Linked DNA regions of Homo sapiens: region 2 is linked to region 1. Evidence: promoter capture Hi-C in 16 types of primary human blood cells and fetal thymus (Javierre and others, 2016). All regions are on one chromosome and are shown on one strand. The core of a region is centred on a gene start or on the middle of the fragment in contact, and the rest is flanking DNA. Distances in the headings are between cores, read along the strand shown. Region 1 holds the start of COPS3 (COP9 signalosome subunit 3). Region 2 holds the start of ATPAF2 (ATP synthase mitochondrial F1 complex assembly factor 2).

Evidence for each region. Contacts are between HindIII fragments. The CHiCAGO score rates a contact against its expected background, and 5 or more counts as called.
Region 2: a fragment that was not itself captured here is called in contact with the fragment with the promoter of COPS3 in region 1 in 1 of 17 cell types (fetal thymus); the score reaches 5.7 in fetal thymus.

What each region holds. Positions count from the first base shown.
Region 1 is chr17:17,278,436-17,284,890 of GRCh38, forward strand. COPS3 (COP9 signalosome subunit 3) reads right to left here and starts at 2,811. Exons shown (of 12, transcript NM_003653.4): 1 at 2,697-2,811. The coding sequence starts at 2,751. RefSeq lists enhancers at 2,199-2,258, 2,909-3,008 and a silencer at 2,449-2,688. The HindIII fragment of the contact is 7,073 bases long and covers 953-6,455 here.
Region 2 is chr17:18,036,792-18,042,848 of GRCh38, forward strand. ATPAF2 (ATP synthase mitochondrial F1 complex assembly factor 2) reads right to left here and starts at 2,377. Exons shown (of 8, transcript NM_145691.4): 1 at 2,090-2,377. The coding sequence starts at 2,222. It overlaps GID4 (GID complex subunit 4 homolog), which reads left to right and starts at 2,617. Exons shown (of 6, transcript NM_024052.5): 1 at 2,617-3,111. The coding sequence starts at 2,674. RefSeq lists enhancers at 2,036-2,105, 2,116-2,165, 2,306-2,415, 3,566-3,625 and silencers at 2,526-2,615, 2,626-3,215. The HindIII fragment of the contact is 346 bases long and covers 1,502-1,847 here.

The DNA.
Region 1 (6,455 bases), core at 1,561-4,060:
TTTACTGAAAGCAAAGGAAATGTATCATTATTATACATGCATTACAAAACAAGAATAAAACAGCTGTGATCTTATTAGGTGTCACCTCTTGAGATCACACAGATTTAACTGGGAAATACCAACTCATCATCATTGTATTACAGATCTCACTGGTAGGTATGAAGTAACTTCTAGTTGAATAATTTGCCTTTGTAAACCATTACTCTAAATATATTAACAATAATTTGTAACACCCAGAAATAAGCATTGCAATCCATTAGTTCTCTACTAGTTAACAATCAGTGCCCAGTTGAGACTGAAATAAAAGCTGGGTCACTATGAAATCACCAGATAATTAATTAGTGCAGGGCCAAGGGCAGAGTAAAAAAAAAAAGTTTAAGTGTCACAGAGTGCATTTGAAATCAGTGTAACCAGAGATGTGGCCAATAAAATTCTTTTTTTTCTTTTTTTTTTTTTTGAGACGGAGTCTTGCTCTGTCACCCAGACTGGAGGGCAGTGGCGCGATCTTGGCTCACTGCAAGCTCCACCTCCCAGGTTCATGCCATTCTCCTGCCTCAGCCTCCCGAGTAGCTGAGATTACAGGCGCCCGCCACCATGCCTGGCTAATTTTGCATTTTTAGTAGAGACAGGGTTTCACCATGTTGGCCAGGGTGGTCTTGAACTCCTGACCTCAGATGATCCGCCCGCCTCGGCCTCCCAAAGTGCTGGAATTACAGGAGTGAGCCACTGCGCCTGGCCTGAAACTCAAAGATTTCCTATCCAGTGAGTGTGAGGCACAGTAGCCGACAGCAATGAAAGTTACCATATTTATCTCTGTCTAGCAGACTGTTCCTATAGCATCCTATAACCTGAAGACCACAACAGCCCTAGTTCTGTTTTGTAATTAAGAAAATTGGCCCAGGGAAATTAAGTGGTTCACCCAAGAAGTGACCGCGACAGGATTTCAACCTGAAGCTTCTAACTACACTACACCCCAGGAAGGAGAACACTAAGTATTTGTCGAATAAATTAACAAACCAGTGGTTCCTTTATTCATAGAAAAGGCAAGCCTGTGCCTTCCCTGTGAACCTCATTTCTATTAATAAAAAGGAAAAAGAGGAAGAATTCTTATTAAGTGCAGCTCCATATCAGACCATTTGTCTTACACCAGTGAGGTAAAAGCACCCCTCCATTTTTACAATGGAGATGCAAAAGACTCAGAGATTAAAGGTTATTTGTCCAAGGTCAAGCAGCTCCTAGAACTTTGCAATTAATGACGGTAACAATAATTTGCAGCTATATTTATTGCACCCCTTATGACAGGCACTGTTCCAACTGCTTTTACATGGTTTCTCTCATTGAATCTTCACAACTCTACATAAACTAGGGACTTATTTTGCAGACGAAGAAACTGAAGCACGGGATAGTTAAAAGGGCCTTCACAGCCAGCATCTAATCATTCGAATTTCAGGTCCAGAATTCGGTACATTCATACGCAATGAATGAACCAAACAACCTGGAAAGTGCGAGTAAAATCATCACAATTCTACCCCTAGAAATGGAGTCCTGGCCGGGCGCAGTGGCTCACGCCTGTAATCCTAGCACTTTGGGAGGCCGAGGTGGGCGGATCACTTCAGGTGAGGAGTTCGAAACCAGCTTGGCCAACATGGTAAAAACCCCATCTCTATTAAAAATACGAAAAAATTAGCCGCGTGGGCTGGCCGCGGTGGCTCATGCCTGTAATCCCAGCACTTTGGGAGGCCGAGGCCAGTGGATCACCTGAGATCAAGGTTCGAGACCAGCCAGGCCAACATGGTGAAACCCTGTCTCTACTAAAAATACAAAAATTAGCCGGGCAGGCGCCTGTAATCCCAGCTACTCGGGAGGCTGAGACAGGAGAATCGCTTGAACCTCGAAGGCGAAGGTTGAGGTGAGCCGAGACCGCGCCACTGCACTCCAGCCTGGGAGACAGTGAGACTCCGTCTCAAAAAAAAAAAAAGCCGTGTGAGCTGGCGGGCGCCTGTAATCTCAGCTACTCGGGAGGCTGAGACAGGAGAATCGCTTGAAGCCGGGAGGCTGAGGTTGCAGTGAGCCGAGATCGCGCCACTGCACTCCAGCCTCGGCTAAAAAAAAACAAAGAAGAAGAAATGGAGTCCTACGAGCGAGAGCTTCCGCAGCATTCTGTAGGACCAAAATAGGCGCACAGGTTCCCGAGCGTGCGCCGCCTGGCAGCGGAGGAGCTGGCAGAGGCGAGCCATAGAGCCAAGACACCCAGAACGGACTCGCCTCCCGCCCGCTCCCGGCGGCCTAGTCAGCAAGCTGCGGATCGGCGGCAAAGATGACATGGCGGTGCGCCAATCACCGAAGGCAAGAGAGACAGAAGGAACCAATAGTCGCCCGAGATGGCTCCTGGCGGAAGTCACGCCCCCAAACTGTCAAGCAAAGCGCCCGGTGGAAGGGGCCCAGGCCGGGGGGAGGGGGCTCCCGGCGGCCCGAGGGAGGGGAGGCCGGCCGGCGAGGACAGCGGAGCGCGAGGGGGCTGCCTACACTCGGCCGCGCTCGATCCTGCCCTGATCTAAACGCCGCAACCCCAAGCCCGGCCCCGGAGAAGAGTCTCAGGACTAAAAGGGCTGTTCCAGCCGTCCGTGCTGGCGCCTGGGGATCCAGGCCAGTTCCCGGTACCCGCCCATGCCCAGCCCGGCGGCCTAGGGCGTTACCTTGAGCTGAGAGCTGTCGGACACTGTTCACGAACTGCTCCAGGGCAGACGCCATGTTTTCCCCCGGGCGGCCCGAGCGGCGAAGGCAGCACGCGCGGGAAAAGGCTGCCGCTCTGGGAGGAGGGGCCGCGGCGATCCACCTGAGGTCCTCGCGAGCGGCGACGTCACTTCCGCTGGTTCAAGCACCGCGAGACTATACCTAGCTGCCCACCCGTTACTGTTTCCATGGAAACAGCCTGAATTCGCCGTAGCCGGAAATTAGTGTTCCATAGTCCCCTGCATCTTTATTCACTGCACTTCTGAAATCCCTCCGCAGGTTAAATGGGGATAGTGGGCAAAAGAAGGAAGGAAACTCATAATTAAGCAAGTATTTTCTGGTTCTGGATTTTGCTAGAGAGGCCCTGCGGTTTTCCACCTGGACAGATACTTCAATGAAGCACAACTTCGTTGCCACGTCTCCCGTGAGGTTTTCCCCGTGATATTAGACTCTGGAGCCAAGCAGCCTGGGTTCAACTGCCTTTTCTACCACTTAGTAGCTGTGTGACGTTGAGCGGGTCACTTGACTGTCGTGTGCATTGTTTTCCCCATCTGTAAAATCTTAGTGTCCTTAACCACGTAAAACACTTAGGACAGTGCATAGGACGTAGGGAGAACTATAGTTATTCATTCAAGGTGTACGTTGAATGAATCGATCCCTTCCCTGCAAAAAATAAATAAATAAGTAACACCACACACAGAAAGTGAATTGATTTTTCCCATCTGGGATTGATGTCTCCCTCCTCCGCTTGTCGCCTAAAGCACTTTGTTCTTCTCATGTTGCACTTCTACTCTGTTACAGAAATGTGTCTCTATAGTCCATGTGATATCTGTAAACCAAAAATAAAAGTCTAAGCCCCCCAACTGACTGGTGGACCCTATCTGAAGCCAAGGACATTCCAATTTATCCTGAAAAACTAGTTCAGGCCATGATGGGAAGTGGTAGTCAGACATGCCTCACAAACATCAACACAGAGACCTTAAGACTGGTAGACTCAAGACTGATAAGAAATATTTACAATCTATTCTGTCTGAATAGCAGGCTACCTGGAAGCCTCATCTGCATGATAAAACCTTGGTCTCCACAACCCCTTATAATCATAACCCAGATATTTCTTTCTATTTACTTCCAGGTCTTTAGATAATAACTCTTTCAACCAATTACCAATCAAAAAATCTTTAAGTCTACCTATAAGGTAGAAGCCCCCCACTGCCCCGAGTTAGCCCGTCTTTCCGATCCTAACCAACGTACATCTTACATGTATTGATCGATGACTCATGTCTCCCTAAAATGTATAAAACCAAACTGTACCCGCACCTTGGGCACATGTCCTGAGGAGCTCCTGAGGCCGTGTTATCATCGCATCCTTCACCTTGGCAATATAAACTTTCTCGATTGAGACTGGTCTCAGATACTTTTGGTTTACGGATCCATTGCTTCTAACTGGCATGGAGTTCCTTAAGGTCAAGCATTTCTCTTACTAACCTTGGTTCCCCTTTAGGGCCCAGCATAGGATTTGCTGCATAGTAGGGACTGAGAAAATAAACATGCATTTTAAAATTTTATCCAACATATGTTTACTGACACTTACAATGTGTTGTACCAGGCACTAGAAATACAGTGGTAGTAAAAACAGTCTTGGGGCCTGGTGCAGTCTCTCACGCTTGTAATCCAGCACTTTGGGAGACTGAAGCAAGTGGATCACTTGAGGTCAGGGGTTGGACACCAGCCTGGCCAACATGGTGAAAAGCCATCTCTACTAAAAATACTACAAAAATTAGCTGGGCTTGGTGATGGGTACCTGTAGTCCCAACTACTCGGGAGGCTGAGATGGGAAAACCTCTTGAACCCGGGAAGTGGAGGTTGCAGTGAGCCGAGATGGCACCACTGCACTCCAGCATGGGCGACAGAGCAAGAATCTGACTCAAACAAAACAAAACAAAACAAAACAGTTTCGGTCCTTCTCTCCTGCAGACAACACATGAAGACCCTAGATAAAAGGAGTTAGTGGTCTGAAGGAATGGAACATGGTTCTATAAAATCATGTCACAGAGGAGATTGACCTGGCTTGGGAGAAACAGGGAAGGCTTTCTTGAGGAAATGGCATAAACTGAGCAACGAAGAAAGAGGAAGAGTTAATAAGATAAGGGGGAAGGAATATTTCTGAGTGAGAGGACAGTATGGTGCTAAGACCCTGCAAGTGAAAGGAGCATGCTAGTTGAGAATGAAGAACTGAAAGAATGTCCTTGTGGTTGGAGGGGAGTAGTTTGTAAGGTGGACAGGGGCCAGGTCATGTAAGCTGTGTTAAAGGTACTGGACTTTTTCCTGAGAAGATTGGGAGGACTGGAGAGTTTTATGCAAGCGGTGGCAGGATCAAATTTGCGTTTTAGGACCGGGCGTGGTGGCTCACGCCTGTAATCCCAGCACTTTGAGAGGCTGAGGTGGGTGGATCACGAGGTCAGGAGTTCAAGAGCAGCCTGGCCAGAAAGATGAAATCCTGTCTCTAGTAAAAATACAAAAAATAGCCGGGTGTGGTGGCGTGTGCTTGTAATCCCAGCTACTCAGGAGCTGAGGCAGGAGAATCGCTTGAACCAGGGAGGTGGAGGTTGCAGTGAGCTGAGATCAGGCCACTGCACTCCAGACTGGACAATAAAAAGAGACTCAACTTCAAAAAACAAAACAACAACAACAAAAATTGCATTTTAAAAAGATTTGTCTGGCTTCACATGGATAACTTGGGAGACAGGAAGCTATTGCAATAGTCAACATAAAATAGAATAGTAATAATTATACTTTAAATAATTATACCTTGAATGCTAATAGTTTTACTCTTACCAGGAGTTCGAGACCAGCCTAGACAACACAGCGTGACTTTGTCTCTACAAAAAAAATTTTAAAAACTAGCTGGTTGTGGTGGTGCATGCCTATTGTCTCAGCTACTCTGGAGGCAGAGGTGGGAGGACCACTTAAGCCCAGGAATTTAAGGCTGCAATGAGCTATGATCTCGCCACTGCACCCCAGCCTGGGTGACAGAGTAAGACCCTGTTTCTTTCAAATAAATAGTAATAATAATAGTTCTTTCGAAAGTGTAGATAAATTCACCAGGATAAATTGGTGAACTTGAGACATGTTTAGATGAATGACTGTAGCACTTGTACTCTAAGATGGAAATGCTCCTGAATGTTCTATGGAAGCAATTGGTCCTTAATCTTTGATCATTTGCAACACACAAGACAGACATTTTGACTTATGGGACACATTTCCATGGATATACATGGATTTTGGTGAAAGCCAAAAATGTTGAAGATAAGTAAAGCACTACAATAATTCAAAGTAGCCACAGCTACTAATAATACTTTGATTGTTTATTTATTATTGCCTATTTAGGTTGTGGCAGCTGCTCTCAAACTGTGACTCCACCAATCAGCAGCGTCAGCGTCATTTGGGATCTTCTTGGAAATGCACATTCTTGGACCCCACTGTAGACTTCCTATATCAAGAGCTCTGAAACTGGGCACGGACCCTCACGCCTATATAAAAATTAGCCAGGCGGTAGTGGTGCACACCTGTAATCCCAGCTACTTGGGAGTCTGAGGCAGGAGAATCGCTTGAGCCTGGGAGGTGGGGGTTGTGGTGAGCTGAAATCATGCCACTGCGCTCCAGTCTCGGTGAGAGAGTGAGACCCTGTCTCGAAAAAAAAAAAACGGTGATTTCCAGAAATC
Region 2 (6,057 bases), core at 425-2,924, 760 kb after region 1:
GTCAGGCATGGTGGCTCACGCCTGTAATCCCAGCATTTGGGAGGCTGAGGCGGGAGGATCACCTGAGGTCAGGAGTTCATGACCAGTGTGGCCAACATGGTGAAACCCCATCTCTACTAAAAATACAAAATTAGCCACGTGTGGTGGCGGACACCTGTAATCCCAGCTACTTGGGAGGCTGAGGCAGGAGAATTGCTTGAATCTGGGAGGTAGAGGTTGCAGTGAGCCAAGATCACACCATTGCATGCCAGCCTGGGTGACAAGTGTAAAACTCCATCTCAAAATAAATAAATAAATACGTAAATAAATAAATTAATTAACCCTTTGCTTTTTGCCAACTTGGTGAACTCCTGAATGTGTCCCCTTTGCTATGCCTCCCTGGGATGCCCTTCCTTTCTCTTCTTTACTGGCCCTTCATGGCCCATTTCCAGGCCCTTCCCCTGAGTCCTGCAGGTGAAACTTCAGCTCCCTGCTGCATCCAGCCCCCTTCCCCATTTCTATAAAGTTATAGAACTTGGCTGGGCGCGGTGGCTCACGCCTGTAATCCCAGCACTTTGGGAGGCCGAGGTGGGCGGGTCACAAAGTCAGGAGTTCGAGACCAGCCTAGTCAATATAAACCCCATCTCTACTAAAAATACAAAAATTAGCAGGGCATGGTGGCAGACGCCTGTAGTCCCACCTACTTGGGAGGCTGAGACCACAAAATCGCTTGAATCTGGGAGGCGGAGGTTGCAGTGAGCCGAGATGGTGCCACTGCACTCCAGCCTCTGTGACAGAGGAGACTCCGTCTCAAAAAAACACAAAAAAACAGAAGAAGAAGAAAAAAAAAGAACTTGACAGCCAGAAAGATCCTCAAAGGCAACCTAGTACTTCAACGCATGGAGAAAAATGAGGAAGTAGTTGCATGCCCAAGATCACACAGACCTCAGAGGTTCAGCCAGCATCAGATCCTAGATTTGCACTCCTGCCACAATGCCAAACTGCCTGTGAAGTTCTGGATTTTCTAAAACAGGCAGTGTCAGGGAAAAGTCCCTCATACCTTGCTGTCACCCTGGACACGTTCTAGATACCCAACACTCTCCCACCTTTTTGCTGAACTCCTACTCATCTATCATGGCTCAGCTTAAACAAACGCCCTTTCACCCAAGACCCATTCTAAACCCTGAACATCCCCAAGATGGGAGTAAGCGATTCTCTGTGTTCTCACAGTTTCTTTGTATGTCCCTTATCAGGATATTATAAACCACAATTTAATCAGAATATTATAACCTTTTGCAATGAACAGTGAACATCATTCAGGTGGGCCTTTTTCTTCTTTAATTGAGCTTCTCTACCAATACATACAGGTGGGTCTTAAAGACAACCGTGCCTCCTGCCTCCAGCACAATAAAACTAATTGAATGGTGGGAGGGTGTTACTGCTCTTCATTCACTGAAATGAGTCATTCTCACTCTTACCCTGACACCACTCACCATCAGCAATGAAAGAGCCACTACTTCTAAGCTTCATCAGAGTTGGAGGTGGAGGTGACTCCACAGTCAGAGGTGGAGGTGTCAATTTCTATTTAGGAGAGAAGGCTGCAGATGGCAGAGGTTGTGGTAGGAGGGAAAGTCAGGAAACCTGCAGCAGAAGTGCCCGGGATGGAGGAATGAAGGCCCAGGTTCTAGGTCCCTTCTGGGCAGGTCTTGTGTTGGGCAGTGGAGACACGGAAAACAGTCAGACAGACACCACAAACCTCTGAGAGAGTCTGCCTGTAACCCAGACGAAGTCCTGATTCAGAGCCCAAACTTCCCCTTTTGAAAACAAAGATGACACCTGCTTTCCTTATTAAAGGGAGGGCAGCCATAAGCTTTGAGAAAACCTGCACAGGCCAAATATCAATTACTGTATCGTGCGTGACTCGCTGTTCCCTCTCGGGTCGTCTGCCCTTGTCTGGGCTTCACTTTCTCATCTGTAAAAAGACCTGACTGGCCTGCATAACCTCATGAGCCTGAACCCTGCCTCAGTTACTTCGCTTTGCACAGCCGAAGCCCGAAGCCCACCTTACCCCAGCTCGGCCCCAACCCAAAAGAACATGTCATGGTCTTACCTGTCGGCGGGGCGTAAGCCCGGGCTGGAGACGGGATGGTTGGCCCCGGACTCATAGAAGCGCTGGGGCCACCCGCCGGCCGATTCAGGAGACGGCGTCCCCCGTCCCGCAGCCGGAGGCAGCTCCTCCACATCGCGCCCGAGGGTCTGGGAAGATGCGAGACGCGAAACCTGGAGCAGGAAACACAGAGCGATGGGATCCCCAAAGCCGCACGGTCGGGCTGTACGGAAACCTCTCAACGCCTCCTCAGAGCCCTCAACCTCCCTTGGACGCCGCCATCTTCCGCATGACACCTACGGCGCGCCGTCGCCGCCGCGCGCCTCCTGCGCACACCCCCAGTCAATCAGCATCACAAACGCACCTCGCCCCGCCCCCTCCACGCCGCGCCTCGGCGAGGAGACTACAAGTCCCAGCGGGCCGCTCGCGCACCGCGCCACGTGTTTTCTCCTCCCGCCAATGGGCGGAAGCGCCGCCTGAGCCTGCTCCCGCCCCCCAGGCTCGCCTGAGCCAATCGGAAGGGGCGGGGTGTGTGTGTGTCTGTGTGTGTTTGTGTGTTGTGTGTCTGTGAGTGTCTGTGTGTGTGTATGTGTGCGCGAGGGCAAGTCGGGAGGGGGACCCAGCTCAGGACTGGGAGGCCCTGCTCGCAGGTCCCTGGGTCCCGGTGGCGGCCGGAGCGCTTGCTCCGCAGGCAGCGGGCGGGTGGTCGCCCCTCCCGCCCCCACCCCGCGCGTGCGCGCCCCGGCCTCTCCCTCCCCGCCACCCTCCTCGGCTCCCGCGCGGCGGCGGCGGTTCCTCTCCCACTCCCCCCAGCCCTGGCTCCGGGGGACCCCGCGATGCCGGTCCGCACCGAGTGTCCCCCGCCGGCCGGTGCCTCCGCTGCCTCCGCGGCCTCACTCATCCCGCCGCCGCCCATCAACACCCAGCAGCCCGGCGTGGCCACCAGCCTGCTCTACAGCGGCTCCAAGTTCCGCGGCCACCAGAAGAGCAAGGGGAACTCGTACGACGTAGAGGTGGTGCTGCAGGTGAGCGCCGGGCCGGGCCGGGGCCCGAGGGCCTCCTCGCGGCGCTCACGGGCCGTGCCCGCTTCGGCTCCTCGACCCCGCAGCCGCGGAACAGGCCCTCGCCGCCGGGGCCTCCTGCACCCGGCGCTTCCCACCCGGGACCTTCCCAGCCTGTGTCTCACACTCTCCGAGCCCCAGCCCTGACCTGCCCCTTCGGACCCAGAGCCCGTCGTGACCGGCTCCTGGCGGACCCCGAACACTCCCAGACTTGAAGCCCGTGACCGGCCCGTCTGGGATCCGGAAGCCCCTCATGACTCGGAGAAGGCCTGGGTCCTTCCTCCCCATGACCTGTCGTCCCTAGATCAGGGACTGCCACCAGCCCTTTTCAGACCCTGAAGAACTCTCCATTGGTTTCACCAGACTTGGGACCCTCCCCATGTCTGGGCCCACGTCAGATTCTCTCAGACCTGAGACATGTCCTCCTGCCCCTTCCTCAGTTCCAGGAATCCGCAGACCTTGGGGTCTTCCTCCTCCTGAGATCTCCTTAGGAGGGCTTCATCAGACCCCCAGACGGGGGAGCACCTAACCCGCAACTGATTGGTCAGGCCCTGGCCTCACCTCAAGACCAGGCACTCACTCCCTGAGTGCTGCTCACAGTCTGTTGGGATGTTGCCTCCTGGGTCCCCTGTTCCACTCACTGCTTCTGTCTCTTCATGGTCCAGGCACCCAGCTCCTTCCAGCTTCTCCACCCCCAGGCCTCCTGCCCCTGCTCTGGGACCATTTGCAGTCTTTTCCCAGTCTTCCTGGCCTCTATCCAGACTTCCCCACCCCATACCTTCGTCTTGCTCGATCCTGGTTCCAGGGGACCCTCTTTCCTGTTCTTAACTTTTCTCTACACAGGCACAGGGCTTCCTCTTAGTCTCTGGTACCCATGTACTGGGAAATCTAACTCACCCAATTTTAGTTCATGTCCAGTCGCCTCCCCCCATTTGACCTGGATTCCTGAATACCTGCTGCCAGTCCCTGATCAGCTTCGGAAGTACAGCTTCACTTGTCTGGGCCTTTCCCACACCTCACTCCTCTCAGGCTTGACACTTTTTGCCAGCTGAAATGGAGTGGCAGTGGTGAATACTCTTTTATCTCCCCTCCCCACAAAACTCTTCCTCCTCTATACCTACCCCTGCCTGACTAAGGACCCCTTTCCCCTTCCCTTTGCCCTTTTTTTCCTTAGTCTGACACCTCATCTGCCAGGCTGTTCCCAGAAGCCCCTCCAAACACCTGTCCCTCTGAAAGGCACTGTGTGCTGCCCCACTGCCTCCCCCCCGCCCCACCCCCCGGGGTGTGAGGGTGGAATGTACAGTATATTTATTCCTCAAGCTCTCCTTTTGGTCATTTAAAACAAATCTTAGTTTCACTTCTGAAGAGTAGGTCTCCCATCCAAAAGACAATGAGGGTGCCTTTTCTTTCTGCTAACTGCGGAGCACTCATCACTCTTTTATTCTCATACTGCTTTGTGGGAATAAATCATTTTCTCTGCTTACTTGAAACAGCATCGTCATGTTAATCATATCTTTGGGCTGTAAAGTTCTATCATGAGCCACGATAGTTATTATAATGGAAATACGATTGTGGCTGAAATATTTTTGTCTTCATAACTGTATGCCTAATGTAGTGATCCTCTTCTTAAAATGTGAGAGTCGAGTATGAAGGTACAGGGGTTTTTCGGTTTGTTTTGCACCTAGTCATAGAATTCTGGAGGTGAGATCCCTGGGTGGGTCACGTTTGGGATGATCTTGGATTTGTCCCTGTTGTTCAGTTTGATGGTTTCTGATGTAGTAGGGGACAATTGGCAAGATAGCCAGGCGTCAAAGGGGAGTCTGCTTTGGCTACTGCAGCAACTGCTGCTCCCTTCTGTCATTAGGGTATCACTTCTGAGCTCCTTTCAGAAGGAGAATCATGAACCAGGGGAAGCAGTGGTTGAGTTGGGGCAGGGCTGATAGGTCTCAGGCAGCCCAGAGCAGAAACCTGGTGGATGGCTGGGAGCCACTTGAGTAAGATGTCTGATGGTGGGGGTGGTGGTCATGCCAATGAATGCTGCCCTACATCTGGATTGGTGAGCTGCTTGGTCATCATCACGACTAGTCAGTGGCATGTGAATTGCCCCATCATCTGGTTTTTCAGCCAGGACTAGTTTGTCAGACACAGCCTTCTTAGACTTAAAATACTTCTGCCTTTTATAACTCAGCTTCTTTTTGTTTGTTTTGTTTTGTTTTCTTTCTTTCTTTTTGTATCTTTATTTAGATAGAATTCACTTATTTAAGGTGTACAATTCAATAGTTTTTAGTATATTCACAGTTGTTTAACCACCACCACAACCTAATTTTAGAATATTTTCATCACCCCAAAAGGAAACCTTGTATGTAACCCTTAGCCATAACCCCCACTCCAATCCTAGGCAACTGCTCATCTATTTTTGTTGTTGTTTGTCTATTCTGGACATTTCATATAATCACATAGTATTTGTCCTTTTGAGATTGGCTTCCTTCACTTAGCATAATGTCCTCAAGGTTCATCCATATGGTAATATGTATCAGCACTTATATTCCTTTTTATTTTGCATTGTTCATTGTAACAATTGTCCATTGAATGGATATACAACATTTTGTTTATACAGTGATCAGTTGATGGACATTTGGGTTGTTTCCACTTCTGGCTACTATGAATAATACTGCTATGAACATTTATGTACAAGTTTTTATGTGGATGTATATTTCACTTTGGTAGATAACTACCTGGGAGTGCAATTGCTGGGTCACATGGTAACTGGGTTTTAACATTTTGAGAAACTGGCCCTGCATTGTTTTACATTTCCACCAGCAGTGGGTGAGGGTTCCAGTTTCTCCACATCCCCGCCAACACTCACTGTTCATCTTTTTTGTTGTAGCCATCCTAGTGTTTTTGAAGTGG